Regions from separate parts of the Homo sapiens genome. Here region 2 is linked to region 1. Evidence: promoter capture Hi-C in 16 types of primary human blood cells and fetal thymus (Javierre and others, 2016). All regions are on one chromosome and are shown on one strand. The core of a region is centred on a gene start or on the middle of the fragment in contact, and the rest is flanking DNA. Distances in the headings are between cores, read along the strand shown. Region 1 holds the start of SLC2A13 (solute carrier family 2 member 13). Region 2 overlaps ABCD2 (ATP binding cassette subfamily D member 2).

Region 1 (3,767 bases), core at 811-3,310:
GCATGTGGAGTTGAATATATGGCCTTTGCTTCCCTTCAGAACCCACAGAGAAAGGGTGAAAAGCACAAACATCAAACAAGTGGTGAATACACAGATCAGCAGCAGCCCCAGGTTTAAAGCGCTTTCATCAAGCCCCAGCCATAGGGAAGAAATACTTCAACAGCACCCTAAGGGAAACAAAAAACTGAATTATGAAACGAAACATTAAAAAAGCATCAGCGGTGTGTCTTAGAAAAATTACTAGTGAGATTTAAGTCACAGCCCCCCACTTTCCCTCAAAAGTGCTTTCTAATAATACAGAGCACATTCCAAATAGCTTCCCTCTGCCAAAAACTTGCCAATTGTACCTCCCCTGCTCAGCAACCAGGGTGAAAAAAATTCAACGCCAGGAGAACCTTAATGCCTTCATTTTTGAAGTAAATTCCAAACATTTATCTTGCGGGGCATTTATCCACAGGGGGAGTAGCTCCTAAATGAATTAAGGAAGTGAATATGACCTTTAATAGATAATTTGGTTCCCAACTGGAAAGCAGGAGAGGAAAAACAAAGAGGAGAATGGATAAAAAAGGATTCAAATGAAAAAGTTGGAAAAACAGAGGAGAATGGAATTTACTTGGGAAAAGAATGAAAGCTGAAAGGCAATAGAAAAAGCATAAAAGCAAAAGGAGATGCCATCTAAAGACAAATGCTAGATAAGCAAAGAGGGCAGGGGTCGCTAATAAACCTTTCAGAGTCCAGAATTACTTAACTCTAAATATTATCTCACTGTAACTTGACGATGGTCTAGGTTCCAGGCTGGGAGCCCCAGAAAACGAAAGGGGCTAGCAGTGGAGAGGCAAGGTGGGACAGTGCAGGAAAGCAGAGACCCTCGTAAGCTCAAGAAGCAGCATCAGGTTAGGCTGGATCAAGGAAAGAGCTGGTGCTCAGCTAGGTTTCTGGAAGTGCTGAGAGGCAACAACCACTTGGACTGACTGGTCCGTGGCCTATCAAAGATTCCACGTGCGCTCGAGGGAGACTAGAGTGACACCCCCTCCCCCCCGACCCTCCCACCTCCCGGGAGAGCCTTGGAGGCTGGACCAACAAACAGATGGGCTCTGGAGGCCAGAGAAGTGGAGGATTCTCTGACCCTGGGAGACCAGACGGGGACCCCGATGGGCAAGAGGCACGCAACACCCAGGGTCAAGGGCGGTGACAATGGGATCCCGGGCGCCCTTCACGGAGCCCGAACTCACCGATGCCGAGTCCCACGACCAGGCGGCCGGCGAGCAGTGTCTCCTTGTTGTTGGCCGCAGCCAGCACCGCGGAGCCGGCGGTGAAGAGGGCACTGGCCAGGAGGATGGCAGCGCGGCGGCCGAAGACGCCGTTGAGGGCGCCTCCGGCCAGCGCCGAGACGGCAGCCGCCCCCACCGTGCTGGACACCAGCAGCTCCTGCCACAGCGCGTCCAGACTGAGCTGCCGCTTGAGCAGCAGCATGGCCCCTGACACCACCCCGGTGTCATAGCCAAACAGGAAGCCGCCCAGCGCGGAGAAGACGGCCACCACGTACACGAAGGCGGGGGTCTCGTCCTGCTGGAACTGCCGCCGCGCCGCGCGCTCCAGGTCCCCGACGCCGCCGCCGCCCGCGCCCGCGCTCTGCAGGCTGGTGCTCGATTCGGCGGCAGCCAGGAGGCTGCACTCCCCGGCCGCGCTCGCCGCGTCCGGCTCCGGCTGCTTCCTGCGCCGCTCGCCCATCAGGCTGCTCAGGCTCCGCAGCGTGTACTCCACATTCTCGCTTGCCTTGCGGGACATAGGGCAGGGGCCCGGGGCTGCCCGGGGGGACGCGGCTCCGCGGGCCGGCAGTCTCGGCGAGCTAGACAGCCCGAGCCGGCGGGAGCAACCGCCGCTGCCGCCGCTTTCTTCCTCCCGGCTTCCGCTCCGGCTGCCACGGCAGCAGCCGCCGCCACGGCCGCTCCGGGGAGAAAGTTGCTGCCCGCCGCGCTCCGACGCTGCGGAGTTGGAGCCCGGCGGGTCTCACTCCACACTCACGCCCCGCGCCTGCCGAGCTGGCGCTGCGGAGCGGGCGGGAGGCGGGACCGCGGGTCACGTGCAACCCCGGGCCGGCGGGGCGGGGCCCGGGAAACGTCCCGCCCCCTCCTTGGGCGGGGCCAGGCTCAGCCCGCCCCGGACCCCTAAACCCCGCCCTCCCGGTGGGTGCGACCTCTGACCTAGGCTCCCTCATTTAGGGCTCTGGCAACCGTATGGAATTAACCCTGCCTTCCGAGCTGCAGCGGTGGAGCAAGCCAATGTGGCGATGCCATCAGGCAACAGGCTTCCAGACGGGAAGCCACCCAGAATGTTTGCCGTGTTTGGAGAGGAGGGAGAGAGCACCTAAACCAGCCTCACTGTCCTTCCAGCAGCCTAGAGAGAGGGCTGGAAAAAATATCCTAGAATAGGACCTAGCAAGTACCCTTCCTTTTATAGTATTGTGACATTACCCAGCGTGGTCTACTTCCCTGGCATTAAATGTGTTTGTTCTGGAGCAATTCAGGGCTGCATGCTCCCATTTCTATAGCTAGTTTCCACTCTCATCGCCAGTCCCTCCTCAATTTATGCTTATTTTAAAGGAATGGTACATTTGATTCTTTGAGGACAGAGAACATATCTCTGTGGTGAATCCCAAACCCTCCTTCCATGGATCCCCGACCTGTAAAAGAAAATTCACATATATGCATTCCACTCATGTAACGGGTAATTCCCAGAAATAGAAAGAAAACTCAAGACCCTGATTTGTGATTCGGCAGGCAGTCTCCATTTCCCCGCCCCAACATGCTAACCAAAAGGTAGGATAGCTTCTCTCCTGAGAATCCCCACTGTTGCCCTCCATGAGGCACTGTTTTAACAGCCTCATTTACTTGAAACAAAGCAAAGATAACGTTATTTGCAACCAATTTTTTAAACTGTTGAGTGAATTAACAGTTGTTGGTTCATTTGGGGTTTGTTTCCCCCTTTAATTTAAATGTTTTTAAAATATACAGTTGCGCATCAGGGGCTAAAGATAGTTTGTTTTGTTTTGTTTTGTTTTTGAGACAGATTCTCGCTCTGTCGCCCAGGCTGGAGTGCAGTGGCGCTATCTCGGCACACTGCAGCCTCCGCCTCCCAGGTTCAAGCGATTCTCCTGCCTCAGCCTTCCTAGCAGCTGGGACTGCTAAAGATGTTTTGTGCCTCTAATTTGCTTTCATTCTTCAGGCTGAGGGCAAAAAGTCAAGCATCATATGATTCTATTCCTACAATTCCACTGCTCTTTTATTTCCCTTATTTGAGCAAAAGCTTTCTTAGCCTGGGGCCTATTTTTCATGCAGCTATAACTTTTTTCCTTTCAGACAAAAGGATTTTGTCATTCCTGTTTCAGTAAAAACTTATATTAGAATTTGTCAAAACTGCTTTCGTTTTGATTATCAGTCACGATTATCTCTACAATATAGTACTTTCCTTGCCAGCAACAAGGAAAAATAAACTAATGAAGCCAGACGGCTTAACTATTTAAATGTTATCGTCTGGCTTTAAAGCAAGGCTCTACCGTCATTCCCAGGCATCAGTTAAACAGAGAGAGCCTTTAGATCTGCAGCAATGAACTCTTTAATATTCAGACCTCGGACAATATTGCAGGTGAGAGCGCGCCTTTTCCGCGGCATGCTACGGTATAGTAAAACTGCGCCCCCTGGTGGTGAGCCAATTCCCACGGCTTCTGAAGAGAAGGGCTCCGCAGATGAGAAGCATCTGGTTCTTTG
Region 2 (3,767 bases), core at 738-3,237, 510 kb before region 1:
TGTTATTTAAATGATGTAACGATGTATAAAAATTGCTCACTTTGAAAACTGATGTGAATGAGAATGTTGATGAATATGTATAAAAGTATTCATAAGCTTATATATTTATTGAGGACTAATCAAATATTGTTTTATTAAAGTTCAATTTTTTGTCAATTATTGTTTTATGATCATGTGAAATGGTAAAAATAATACATTCTATATATGTTTGATGTACATAGCAACTAAAGCCGCTTAGGTTTTTATTAAAATAATGATTTTAAAATATTATTATAATGTTAAAGCCACCACTGAATTCTCTGGAAAGACTGTGTCAAGAAAATTCGGGATGACATTTACTCAATTTGAAAGCACAAGGAAACGGAGGACCCTATAGCCAATGTTTATATAATTAGTTTGCATGTGATTCTCTTTCCAGCTCAAAGTTCTGGAATTTAACATTTTGAGTCAGTTCAAGTTTCTGTAGTCCTACCAAAGTTATACATAATAGATAAGCACTCAAAGTACCCTTTACTAAACTTTCCTTTCTAGATATATAGACCTATTCAGATAATCTTCTAAATATTTCAGGTAGATCAATTACCATGTTAGAATGTTACTGGCTCACTTGCTCTGGCTCATTACAAAGGAGATCATGCAACATATCTAACATAAGCAACAAAAGAAATGGTCAGATTGCTCCTCATTAGTAGCTATCAAAAAAGAAATATTAACTAGTTTTAATTTACTTTCTATAAGTAAAACCCAGAATCATCTCTATATGTTATGGAAAAGATAGCAAAATAAATCCATAGGTGTCACATGTGGATCATTTAACAAATAATCCTTATTTAAACAATTATAATAATTATAATAATTGTTTTTTCTTGGGAATCTACAATTCTTTCAAATGTATATATAGTTAAAATTCAATTATAATAGTAAAATTATTTGAGATAAAATTCATTCCCCATGATTATGGCTTTTTATAGTTTTGTTACTAATGTCTCAAGGTGCTTTTATACTTTGCATTATATTCCCACTTTTCTGCATTAACATCTAAGTAATCTGACAGTGATTTTTTTTTTTTGGTAAAATGTATTGATGTTTGTTAGAGTTACTTTTTTATTATTCTCTAAGACAAAGCTAGAAAGAATGGGAAAGCACTGAGAAGTGTTAGCTGTATCTATGTGCTTGGAGCTTCTGAATGACACAAAATTCTAAATATTTCCTAAATTGAGAGCAAAAAACCAATTCAAATCCAGAGGAGAAAAAAAAGTGTGACATGAAAGGCCTATATGCAGAGAAAACAAATTTTTAAAGTAATCATATAAAATTTAATTGGAACAATATTGATAAAAATTTTGCAGCAATGTTAACTGTATTTAAGGCATGAGATGTGTTAAGTTTAAGAATAATGTACCACTAAGTACTGCTGTGTTGTCGTAGCAAAAGAAGTTAACAATCTGAAAGGCATAAAATTTAACTATCAATAATTCACATAACTATACATGCTGGAACCAATCATTGCATCAGGGTTTTTCATGCATAGAAAGAACTAGATTTGAGTCATTTATAGTATTCTTAAAAAATGTGTGATAATAAGAAGAAATATTCAAGTGAAAATAGATATTTACTATTACTGAAATTATATCTTTTGGATAAGATATTTCTAGATTCCAAAACAGAGATGAGAATAGCCTCTTAAGAGCAGGGATGAGGTTTATTTCCAAGTAATAAAAATAATATTAGGCCAGGTGCAGTGGCTCGCATCTGTAATCCCCGTAATTTGGGAGGCCAAGCTGGGTGAATCACCTGAGGTCAGAAGTTTGAGACCAGCCTGCTCAACATGGTGAAACCCCATCTCTACTAAAAATGCAAAAATTAGCCAGGTGTGGTGGCACACACCTGTAATCCCAGCTACTTGGGAGGCTGAGGCACAAGAATCTCTTGAACCCTGGAGACAGAGGTTGCAGTGAGCCAAGATTGTGTCACTGAACTCCAGCCTGGGCAATAGAGTGAGACACTGTCTCAATAAGTAAATAAATAAATATATTATTAGTGGAAGAATTAAAGTATTGCTAAGCTGTTAAAAATGCAAATTTCTGTAAAAGTCAACTTTAAGAGTATTTATCATTATATCAGATTACCATTTAAATTGCTGATATTTGACCTATAAAAATTGCAGTTCCATATGGTTTAATGTAATAGTACTCATAAAATGAGAAAAACTTTTGAGTGAGAGGGGAGTTTTTTCATTATTACTTTTATAAATGAGCCCTTAGAAAAGTTAAAGATTTTAAAAAGTATCTTTAGCATTCTTCCAAGCCATAGAAAGCTATAGAAAATTGTGTTTACATTTATAGATCTCTTTAAAAGAGATTTAAAAAAACTGAACTGTACCAACTACTACACAGGAGGAACTAAAATGTACAACTTCTATTTCTGTCAACTGACTGCCCAAAGGTATTTATACAAAGATTACTTGGCTGTAAGTCTAACAGTCAGAAAGCAAGGAATAGAAGTCAATTTGCTACAGCAATGCTACTAAGCCTTCCTTGTGGTTAAAATAATTTTCTAAAAAAGGACATGTTAAATGACAGATATTTATCCCCATCATAAAGAGAATTTTGCAACATACCTACTGCAAGCAGCAAAATAAATAGATTGCTCATAATTAGTGTAAGGTACCAGATTGACTTGGCAGTAGAAACCAAATCTGTGGAGATGTTCATTCATTCAGTCAATCACTTATCAGATATTTATTGCACAATTACAATATATTTACTAGGATCCTACCAGTGCTGTACAGAGACATGTGGTTGCCTTTTCTAGCTTTTAATCTATAAAAGTTTGTTCAACAGTGACTCAACAAGGGCAAAGTCTGTTCCAGTACAACCCCTACTCCCAAAGCCATATTTCTTTGCTTTGAGGGCAGCAGGACAATAGATATGTAACCTACATACACATTGGCACAGTACATAGGTATAGAGTTCTGTGAGGAGCTCTGGATTAAGCCACATCACATTCCTCCTTTATTCCAGTGGCTTTTATAGACCCATATTCCACTCAGGCAGTGGCCTGCTAGTCTGCCTCTTTCTTAAATAAACACACTCCTTGTCCTCAAGAGGTGCACCCTGTTTGCCTTTTGGCAGCTAGATATTCATTAAGAATTGACAGGTCCAAAAGCTAGAGACCTATAGGAAAATTGAGATTAAGATATTTAAAACAGCATACCCCAGATTCTTGCTTAGATCCTTTTCCAGACCACATCCTCATTTTTAAAATCTGAGATCTTGGATAAAAAGAAAAAAAGCAAGGATCTCACTGAGAATACTTTAACAGCACCCTTTCTGTCCTCCATAGAGAAAAGAGGCAAATCAGTTCTTCTGACCTGATCTCATATGCTTTCTAGTTAATAGCCATCATCTGGTTTTATATGTGTGGGTTAAACAATGTTGATATATAACACAGAGTTCCCTGATCCCTACAAAGAAGAAATCTTAGATTTGGAAGTCATTCATATAGAAACAATAGAAAATGGAACTTCACAGCTTTTATTTTTTTGTTTTATTTTTATTTTTATTCTTTTGAGATAGCATCTCACTCTGTTGCCCAGGCCAGAGTGCAGTGGTGCAATCATGGCTCACTGCAGCCTCAACTTCCCAGACTCAAGCAGCCCTCCCACCTCAGCCTCTTAAGTAGCTGGGACTACAGGCAAGTACCACCATATCCAGCTACTTTTTTATTATTTGTATTGACGGGGTCCCCCTATGTTGCCAGGGCTA

Evidence for each region. The method cuts DNA at HindIII sites, captures the fragments that hold promoters and counts their contacts. A CHiCAGO score of 5 or more calls a contact.
Region 2: a contact is called between a fragment that was not itself captured here and the fragment with the promoter of SLC2A13 in region 1, in 8 of 17 cell types (total CD8 T cells, naive CD4 T cells, total CD4 T cells and 5 more). The highest score is 12.2, in total CD8 T cells.

What each region holds. Positions count from the first base shown.
Region 1 is chr12:40,104,021-40,107,787 of GRCh38, forward strand. SLC2A13 (solute carrier family 2 member 13) reads right to left here and starts at 2,061. Exons shown (of 10, transcript NM_052885.4): 1 at 1,233-2,061. The coding sequence starts at 1,788. RefSeq lists silencers at 1,495-1,584, 1,595-1,664, 1,685-1,944, 1,965-2,214, 3,596-3,725 and an enhancer at 3,215-3,384. The HindIII fragment of the contact is 3,714 bases long and covers 1-3,304 here.
Region 2 is chr12:39,589,700-39,593,466 of GRCh38, forward strand. The region is part of intron 6 of ABCD2 (ATP binding cassette subfamily D member 2); the gene reads right to left. Among named protein-coding and RNA genes, the nearest start is that of ABCD2, 28 kb to the right of the region's middle. The HindIII fragment of the contact is 3,787 bases long and covers 95-3,767 here.